Regions from separate parts of the Homo sapiens genome. Here region 1 is linked to region 2. The links are contacts of gene promoters, found by promoter capture Hi-C in blood cells and fetal thymus (Javierre and others, 2016). All regions are on one chromosome and are shown on one strand. The core of a region is centred on a gene start or on the middle of the fragment in contact, and the rest is flanking DNA. Distances in the headings are between cores, read along the strand shown. Region 1 overlaps AP4S1 (adaptor related protein complex 4 subunit sigma 1). Region 2 holds the start of AP4S1 (adaptor related protein complex 4 subunit sigma 1).

Region 1 (4,787 bases), core at 2,260-4,759, 54 kb after region 2:
ATAGAGGCCAATGAACTGTAGTTGTCATTTGTGTTTCACTAATGGATAAGGATGTTGAGCATCTTTTCATATGTTTATTAGCCATTTGTCTATCTTCTTGGGAGAAATGTCTGCTCAAATCCTTTGCCCATTTTTACATTGCATTATTTGTTATCTTATTGTTGAGTTGCAGGAGTTCTTTATATATTCTGAATACAAGTCCCTTATCAGATATATGATTTGAAAATATTTTCTCCCATTCCTTTGTAGATGTTCAATTGTTCCAACATCATTTGTTCAAAAGACTGTTCTTTTCCCCCAATGAATTGTCTTGGCCCCCTTATCAGTAAATCAATTGGCCATAAATGTAAGTGTTTATTTCTGGCCTCTCACTTTTGTTCCATTGATCTCTGTGTCTAGCCTTACATCAGTAGCACACTCTTTTGATTTCTGTAGCTTTGTATCAAGTTCGAAACTCACCAGTCTTTTAAAAAAGAATCAGTAAAGATGTTTTACTTTGGTACCATAGGCCTTCCTGAGCTTTAGTTAGACATTCTTGAGAAGTAGCAGCGGCACAAGCTTATCTTTTTATTTTTATTTTTTTTGAGACGGAGTTTTGCTCTTGTTGCCCAGGTTGGAGTGCAATGGCGTGATCTCGGCTCACTGCAACCTCCGTCCCGGGTTCAAGCGATTCTCATGCCTCAGCCCCCCAAGTAGCTGGGATTACAGGCATGCGCCACCACGCCTGGCTAATTTTTGTATTATTAGTAGAGACAGGGTTTCTACTTTTTCCATGTTGGTCAGGCTCGTCTCGAACTCCCAACCTCAGGTGATCCGCCCGCCTCAGCCTCCCAAAGTGCTGGGATTACAGGCGTGAGCCACCACACCCAGCCAGCACAAGCTTATTTTTTAAAGTTGTTTTTTTTCATTTCGCATTTAAATAAAAACAAGGAATTTTTCCAAGCTTCTTCCTGAGGCAGTGAGCAGAATGTGCTCCATAATTAGTAATATTGTGTGCACTAAAACCCGGAAAGGGCAAAAGTCCAATTAGGAAGTTAGGTCTTCAGCCCACCTCCTAATGCCAGAAGTGAGGTTTGGCAAACTCCTTCTTCATGGGACAGTCAGCTAGCCTGTCTTCATTGTCTTAGTGCAGCAGTTCTCAAAGTCTGATTCCTGGACCATTAGCATAGGTTGAGAACTTGTTAGACAGACAAATTCTGGGCCCCATCCCAGACCATTGCATCAGAAGCTGTAGGTCAAGGCCCAGAAATCTGTTTTAAGATGACTTCCAGGTGATTCCAGGTGATTCTGGTTTCTGGTACATGCTTAATTTTGGTAATCATTGCCTTAGTGCATGAGGCTTGCTGTCAGCCATTTTTGTTTTTTTTCTTTTTTCTTTTTTTTTTTTTTTGAGATGGAGTCTCGCTCTGTCGCCAGGCTGGAGTGCAGTGGCGCGATCTCGGCTCACTGCAACCTCTGACTCCCTTGTTCAAGCAATTCTCCCACCTCAACCTCCCGAGTAGCTGGGATGACAGGCACGTGCCACCACACCCAGCTAATTGTTGTATTTTTAGTAGAGTTAGGGTTTCACCATATTGGCCAGGATGGTCTCGATTTCCTGACCTCTTGATCCACCTGCCTTGGCCTCCTAAAGTGCTGGGATTACAGGCGTGAGCCACCGTGCCCGGCCTTTATCAGCCTTTTCTTGATTCAAGAGTTGGTGTTGGGAACGTGCCTTGTGGTCTGTGATGTGGAAATGCATCTAGCCAGGAAGGGGTTGGTGCGTTCCAAAGCTGAAAGATACCAAGAGGTGGTCATTCCAGAGACTGGCCTTGGGGACAGAGGACATGGAGACTGGCTTTAAAATCTATCTCTGTGTTGATTGCTTGGCAAGAGCACCATAGACCAGCACTGTTCAGTAAAACTTTCTGCAGAGATAGGAATGTTCTGTACCTGTGCCATCCAATACAGTAGGCATTAGCCAGATGTGGCTCTTGAGCACTTGAAATGCAGTTAGTATAACTGAGGAAATAAAGTTTTAATTTTACTTAATTTAAATCTCCACATGAGGTTGGTGTTTACTGTATTGGACAGTATAGCTCTAGCTTCTGCTTACCTTGTGATGACCACTCTCTTGTTTAGACAGACTAGTTGCAAGTCAGGGTCTATGATCAGAGCTGACCATGATTAGCCATTTCAAGGTGACACCCACCAAGAAGAATATAATTTCCCAAAATAATAATGTTCTAAACCTAGGAGAATAAAAAGTGGGTACAAGTACTATCATTGCTAAGGTTTTAAAAATTATTATTATTATATTCAGTAACTGAGAATAAATAGCATATTGCTGAATTATAGGTATAATTTTAGGGAGAGTCAGTGACCACATAAACCACGAAAGTAAAGATTAGAATTTAATTTCAGCCAGGTGATTATGCAGGACTTGGACGGTAGGTACTAAGGGATGACTTGGCTTAGGATCAAACCATAGCAAAAAGAAGAAGAGGAAGAGGGAAAAGAGCACTATGGGAAAGAAAATAGGATCTGTCCCCCTCACAGAGACGGCCTTGTCATGTAAGATTTATTTTTAGGTTTGTGAATTTTAAACATTCTTTCTGTGGCTATTTTTAATCTTCAAGAATTTCCAAATCTTAAATTTGGAGATCAGTCTCATGCTGTCTGGGGCTGAGAGAAGCATCTCAGCATCACATTTTTAAAACAAAAAACCAACCCAGTTAGCTTCAAAGAAGGCAGCTTTGCCAGAGGTGAGGGTTGTTGCTGTTGAAGAAGTGGTATCAGGGGATTTTCAGTGCTGCATTTGACAACCCTTAAGTCCTTTCATATTTGAACTTAATTCTCTTTGCTTTTTTCTTCCTCCATACTTTTTTCACTGCATAAATATCTATTTTATTTACAAAATTTTAAAACATATAAGCAAAGAGAAAGAGGAAAGCGAATACATGTAGTTATGCATTTGTCTAAACCCATGGAATGTACAACAGTAGAGTGAACCCGAATGTAAACTGTGGAATTTGGGTGAGAATGATGTAGGTGGGGAATGCTGATCATGGGAGGAGGCTGCACATTCGGAGGGACACGGCTGCACATTCGGAGGCTGCACATTCGGAGGGAAGGCTGTACCTTCCCCTCAATATTGCTGTGAACCTAAAACTGCTCTTTAAAAAGTAATGTATTTTTTGGCCAGGTATGATGACTCACACCTGTAATCCCAGCACTTAGGGAGGCTGAGGCAGGTGGATTGCTTGAGCTCAGGAGTTCAAGACCAGTCTGGGCAACATGGCAAAACCCCCGTCTCTACAAAAAATACAAAAATTAGCCAGGTGTGGTGGCTCACACCTCTAGTCCCAGCTACTTGGGAGGCAGAGGTGGGAGGATCGCTTGAACCCAGGAAGTGGAGGTTGTAATGAACCAAGATCATGCCACTGCACTCCAGCCTGGGCGACAGACTGACTCCAAATAAATAAATACTTTCTTGAAATAAATAAATAAAATAGATTTTTTTAAGTGAGAAGAAGATCATCAGTAAGCCCATCAGTTACTGATAACTGCTGTTAGGTACATTTCCTTTTAGACTTTCTATGTCTGTCTGTAGCTGTATAACCACATATACTTTGACCTTTATACATACATACATAGGATAATACTATGTATACATTTTGTAACTTTTTTTAACAATATGTGAGTACTTATATGTCTACATCATCATTTGTGGATATGCTACGGTTTACTTAATTTGTTCCCCTCCTTGATAGATATTTAGGTTATTATCCATAATTTGCTATTACAAACACCATTACCCTGAATATCCTGTCATATATCATTGTGCCATTGTCTAATTTTTTCCTTAGGATAAACTACTAGAAGTAACGTCAGTGGATTCAAAGGGTGTGGCACATTGTTAAGATCTCTGATACACATATCAAATTACCTACATCTGTAAAGGCTGAGTTAGTTTCTTTTTCCCTCTGCTTTCTAAAGATGAATCGTGCTGGCCTGTAAAATTCCTTTGAACTACAGCCTATATTTAAAAAAATTATAGTCCCAAACTTAGGGCCTTGGCAGAGTCAGACTGCTGTGGCCACCAAGCCCAGAAGCAGGTAGGAGAGGCCGCTGCTATGGACGCAGAAGCCTCTTCAGTCTGACTCTGCTAAGAGCAGTGGTCCCCAGTGTCTTTTTTCTAACCCTTGCACTCTTTTTCTGTCTTCCAGAGTGAATTAGATGTATCCTTTTTCAATACTGTTTTCCACAGTACTTGGCAAATGCACTCTGGTCCTTATCAGGTAAGTACCACAAGGCAGGAAAACTATTCAGCAGAGTCCAGAGTGTTCATCACCAACAACTATGACAAGACAGCCAGAGGTGTGTGTGTTCTGCAGAACTCCTCCCCAACTTCGTCACCCTGCTTCAACAAGGCGATTCTTTTTTTTTCTTTTTAAGATGGAGTTTCGCTCTTCTTGCCCAGGCTGGAGTGCAATGGTGTAATCTCTGCTCACTGCAATTTCCACCTCACTGCAACCTCTGCCTTTTGGGTTCAAGTATTCTCCTGCCTCAGCCTCCTGAGGCATTACGGGCGCCCACCACCACGCCCAGCTAATGTTTGTATTTTTAGTAGACACGGGGTTTCACCATGTTGGCCAGGCTGGTCTTGAACTCCTGGCCTCAGGTGATCCACCCACCTCGGCCTCCCAAAGTGCTGGGATTACAGGCGTGAACCACTGCGCCTGGCAAGATGATTCTTAAGATTTTTTTTTTCCAGGCAGGATAGCGCTATCATAGTAGTTAATAGC
Region 2 (5,213 bases), core at 2,714-5,213:
GAAAACAGTTTTGAAGGATTTGTTAACAACAGAGTGTTGGTTAAGTACATACGGTTTATAAGGCCAAAGGATTTGGCAATTTGAAGGTCAATCATGAACAGAAAACATAGTGTTCTACGAAGTGTTTAGAAGGGAGGAGAGAAGAAAGCGAAAAGGCAGACTACAGAGTGGGGTTAATGGGTAGTGGAGGAGCATAAAGAGAATTCTAGATCAGTGGTCCCTAAACTTCATTTCAAGGGCTTCAAAAAGAAACAGGGAATCTGACACAAGGTAGTGGACTCCCTTAATACTATCAATAAAATTTTTTTAACTATTATCACCATCATCTGAAAAAGGAAATGCCTAACAGTAAAAATGTATGAAGGCTAAAAATCCCAGAACAAAGGGAACACCTTTATGAAAAATCACTGTCGGCCGGGCGCGGTGGTTCACGCCTGTAATCCCAGCACTTTGGGAGGCCAAGGTGTGCAGATCACGAGGTCAGGAGATCAAGACCATCCTGGCTAACACGGTGAAACCCCATTTCTACTAAAAATACAAAAAAATTAGCTGGGCGTGGTGGCAGGCACCTGTAGTCCCAGCTACTGGGGAGGCTGAGGCAGGAGAATGCCGTGAACCTGGGAGGCAGAGCTTGCAGTGAGCCAAGATGGTGCCACTGCACTCCAGCCTGGGCGACAGTAGAGCGAGACTCCATCTCAAAAAAAAAAAAAAAGAACATAAACTCTTTGACTACATTTTCTTGTATTAGCTATGTCATATTTTTACACTTGGCAAACAAGCATTTTGTATATACCCAAAATCCACTTACTACATACAAACTATAAAGAAAAATATAAGGACACATTAGCAATATATATAAACTATGCCTTGCAGCAGCATCACAGGCGCTCAATAAAACTTTATTGAAATGTACTCAAGTGGTGTGGGCCACGCAATACTAGATGAAGAATTACAAGTCAGATTCCACTCTATAAAAAAGAGCTAAGACAGTATAACATAATGGTTACAAGAGTGGTAACATGACTACAGGCTTTGGAATCAGACAGACTTGGGTTCAAATCTCAGCTGCAATACTTTATGGCTAGGTGACCTTGGCAAAATGATTTAACCTACCTAAATTTGTCTCCTCACCTGTAAAACAGGAATACTCACCTCATGAGGTTATAGTGCTGATTAAATGGCAGTTTCTAACTTTTAGAAGTCGTAACATGATAGATGTTGCTGCTTAAAGATCCTTAAGTTAGTAGGAGATATTTTGCTTAGACTTACTTGATTTCTTCATTTTTAAGGGGGGAATCTCCTGAATTTTCCATTTTCAGGGTTTTCAAAAGCTGGTCTGGAATAGTAATTTGCAAATCCTAGTGTCTTTTCCATGACAAGATTTTAATGAATCTACTATGAAATTACAAAAAAGAAAAGTGTAGTGTAGTAATTTTTCTCTTTAACAGGCACTACTGTGAAGAAAGAATCACTTGTAGAACTCTAAAAAATATGCAGGCCTCTTATCCTCTGGAGATCTGGATTGATCTAGGGCTTGAAGAAAATGGACTGTCTGTGGAATTTTGGTAATTCATGTTATATAAAAGTTAAGAAACCACTGTCCTATGACCTTACTAACAATGCTTTACCTGAGTCTAAGGTAAGGAAGAATCAGAGACAGAAGAGCTTTAAGATGTGATCCTTTAGTTTGGTTCCAAGTTTCTAAGACAGACCTTTACTCTAAATTCTTTTTACAGAGAACAGAATCATACTGTAAAGTTCCTTTTAATATCTTTCCCAAAGCCAGGGAAAATATTATTCCCCATTAAAATTTTACATCAATATGGGGTATTCCTTAAGCTCTTCACGTTCTCTATTGAAACTATTCAATAATTAACACTTTAAAAATCTGTGTACATGACAGTGCACTGGAGACTGTACATAATAATATGTAAGTTGTCTTATTTCTAGATTGTCTTTCTTAAAAATAGGTTTAAGTTTACAGTAAAAATCCACTGATGCTTCACTACACCCTCCCACAAATATGTATTCAACACATACATTTTAAAATACGCATCTCACAAGCAATCTCAGTAGACTGAAGGCACCTAAAGCAAACTAGAAACCTTATTAAGTTAACCCAATAAAACATTTTAAATATATAACTCAAAAAAAAAAAAACCAACGCCATCATGAACATTTTATTCCAAAAGAATCAGTATGAAATAAAAAAGAGTCTAGAAACACTGTAGGACTTCTTCAAAACAAGGAAACAAACAAAAACTTAGGATGGCTAATAACAGTACTGTACCAATAGAATTGAAAGCAAGCAAGCAAGCAAAAGGAATCTACCTTAAAACACTGCTGCTGCTGTTAAGGAGACCTAGAAGGGAAAGCAAATGCTAGAGCAGGCAATAAAGGCTTCTTTAATATATAGTATAGGTTTTACTAATTTGGGCACAAGATATCTTTCTTCTCAGCTGCTTACATTAGTGAAGTTTATGGGTGAAAAATGCAATTGCTAACTTGAAGAGTGTTGAAATCCAAACTTGCATACAACAGTACAAAGGTCTAAGAAACCATAGCAGGGACTGGTGAAGTATTATTTAGTGAGCTTAGGCCTTACTGCATTTGTCAATCCAAATTTTAAAAACAAATGCCTTACTTACTTTACTCACACAGAAAATTAAGTTTGCAGTATGTAGTAGAAAGCTGTATACCAACAGAATTCTATAAATTTTAAGTATGTTAAAGCAGACTGTACACAACTTAAACCAGTTTTGACTTCAGCTTTTTTAAAGTTATGTAATTTTAAAGCCCAATATTATATCAAAACACAATTGTAAAGCACTGAAATGACTAACAAGTGTTACTTTTTTTTAAGACTTCATACAGTGTCAAAATACCCAAGTATTTTTTACTTTTGAAAAGTTTAACTTCACCCACTTTGTGGAGTCATATAAAAGTTTACTAGTTCAGAACCAAACTAAAGAGATGCATATTTGAGGACACCCTTTCTAGTTAATCCAATCCTCCTCCTTTCAGCACTACATTTGCCTAACGATTCACCATAGGCATATGACATATATGACAGCAAATACTGCTTACCCCCTAAATACACAACAGTCTGAAGAACAGGTGCAATACTATTTAGACACACGCTTTTTCCTTCTAAGCCTAAATTTGCCCTGGAAAGGTATTTAAAAATAAACACAAATACCCAAGAAAGTTAAATAACCCTTTCAAAAAGATGCAGCAATTTTGAGATCCAGGACATGAGCTGTTAACTACCAACAGCTTCCAAATGTGCAGCCTATCAAAGGTTCACATTATGAGGATCGAGTCAAGCTCAACTATGAAGGGTTCCGAGAACATCTCACTTTGCTTCTCCTGCAAGAGTAAGTAACATGATATAACTACGTTTCACTTCAAGGGAATATTAAATCTCTTCAGTCGTTTCATAAATACAGCATCGATCGTCTGGTTTGGTTTTTTTATAGATAAAGAAACGGATGGGGGAAAGGAGATCTAGTGGAGAGTACTGTAAAAAGAAAAATTCAGTGCTGAAAGCGTTGATGAGTCACTAAGTAAGGAATAACTACAGAGAATCCAAGTGAGTAAGGCAGCATCTCAGGTGAGAAAGTACTTAAAGTTGACGATGGGAAATAAAACTTCACAGGTCAGTCCCAAGTCACTGTGCACCCTAGCAGCCCAGGAAAGAAGCGTGGCTGTCAAGGGGCAAGCGCGTACCAAGTCTGAGGGAGGGGGCCAGATACGCCAAATCGGAAAGGGGGGTGGTCCGGAAAAGGGGGGTAAGATGCCTATCCTAGTCCCTCTCTTCGGGCTCTTCATCTCAAGAGGAACAAACAAGAGCAAACTCAGTGTTGAGAGGCCCCAAACCGGACTCTCCCACAGAGAGGTGCTCGGTCCCAAGCCCCGGAGGCCCGGGAAGGCCGCCTCCGGAGGAGCCCCCGCAGACGCCATACTAAAAGCCAAAATGGCTGCCCCGAGGAGGCCCGCACCGCGTAGCCAGTGAAGGTTGGGGAGCAAGCTTATGCGGGAAAGAGGGAGGGGGACTCCAGGAAAAGCCGTTGAGAGGACCATCACAACCTGAGCAGCACAGGTAGGTTCCGCTCGGCCTCCCAAGGCGCCGGCTCCGGCTGAGTGGAGTCCCCAGCCCCACCCCCCGGCCGGGAACCCAGCCGCCGCAGCTCCCGCACACCGACCCCAACGAGGTACCTGCAGTTCGGCCCGTTCCACCTCCCAGTGCGCCCGCTCCATCTCGAACCGAGCCCACTCGTGCTGGATGTAGTGCAGTATCCCCGGGATAGTGTACTGCTGCGGCCGGGACAGCTCGGGGCCTGCCGCGGGACCCGCTCCCTCGGAGGCCGGAGGACCCCCGCCGCCCGCCGCTCCGTTCCCCCCGGGCGAAAGGCCCAGGTTCCCCCCAGGTCCCTGCTGCTGCCGGGGAGGGGCCGCCATCCCCGGGCCGCCACCACCGCCTCCGGCAAGCTCGTCCATTGTGTGTGGGGCCCCGGCCGGGGCGCAGGGCGAGACGCCGACAGCTGGGGGAAGGGCCGGAGAGGGTGGCCCCGCGCTGGCTGCGGGGCGGAGGCCGGCCGGGAGAGGGGCGGGGAAGGGGTCGTTGCTGTGTGCCTGCCGTGGGTCAGAGCAGGGAGCTGCCGGCTGCCGCCATTACAATCCCTCCTCCATCTGCCCGTCTCACTCACTCACTTTAGGGGAAGGGGGGGCCTCGGCGGGAGGGGTGGGGGGAGAGTTGGGAAGGGGATAGGCGGAGGGCCGTCACTAGCGCACAGCATGCTGGGTAGCGAACGCAGCCTCACGCTTAATCGCCAAATAGAGTCCGGCCTCACCCTACGCCGGCGCACTGAGAACGCAGCCCGGGTCGCCGTTAGAGGGCGGGGAAAGAGCTCGGGCTCCGCCCCTAGGCCCGCCCTCAGACCCGATCCGGTGTCTGGCCGCAGCTACCGGACACCTGGGCTCCGACTCTGACTTTTGGAAGCGAGGCGGCCTTAGGCTTCCTGGTTATCAGTTTCCTTTTAGCAGGCCGTCCCCGGGCGCTGTTTCCTTCCCAGGGGTCTCTCACCCGTGTCCCGGCTTTCTGAGCTGGTTGTTAACCTGGCTGGTCGCTCTGGCCGACCGCATCCCGTCTCGGATTCCTGACGTTTCTTTTTCATTCTTTGAGTGTTTCAGGCAGTCCCAAGGGTGGGCCC

Evidence for each region. The method cuts DNA at HindIII sites, captures the fragments that hold promoters and counts their contacts. A CHiCAGO score of 5 or more calls a contact.
Region 1: a contact is called between a fragment that was not itself captured here and the fragment with the promoter of AP4S1 in region 2, in 5 of 17 cell types (erythroblasts, M2 macrophages, M1 macrophages and 2 more). The highest score is 11.1, in erythroblasts.

What each region holds. Positions count from the first base shown.
Region 1 is chr14:31,076,365-31,081,151 of GRCh38, forward strand. It overlaps AP4S1 (adaptor related protein complex 4 subunit sigma 1), which reads left to right. Exons shown (of 6, transcript NM_001128126.3): 5 at 4,209-4,220. Among named protein-coding and RNA genes, the nearest start is that of STRN3, 52 kb to the left of the region's middle. The HindIII fragment of the contact is 5,137 bases long and covers 942-4,787 here.
Region 2 is chr14:31,021,686-31,026,898 of GRCh38, forward strand. AP4S1 (adaptor related protein complex 4 subunit sigma 1) reads left to right here and starts at 3,964. Exons shown (of 6, transcript NM_001128126.3): 1 at 3,964-4,102. STRN3 (striatin 3) reads right to left here and starts at 4,694. Exons shown (of 18, transcript NM_001083893.2): 1 at 4,219-4,694. The coding sequence starts at 4,500. RefSeq lists enhancers at 3,643-3,742, 3,813-3,922, 5,033-5,192 and silencers at 3,912-4,093, 4,233-4,492, 4,583-4,902. The HindIII fragment of the contact is 24,948 bases long and covers 1-4,028 here.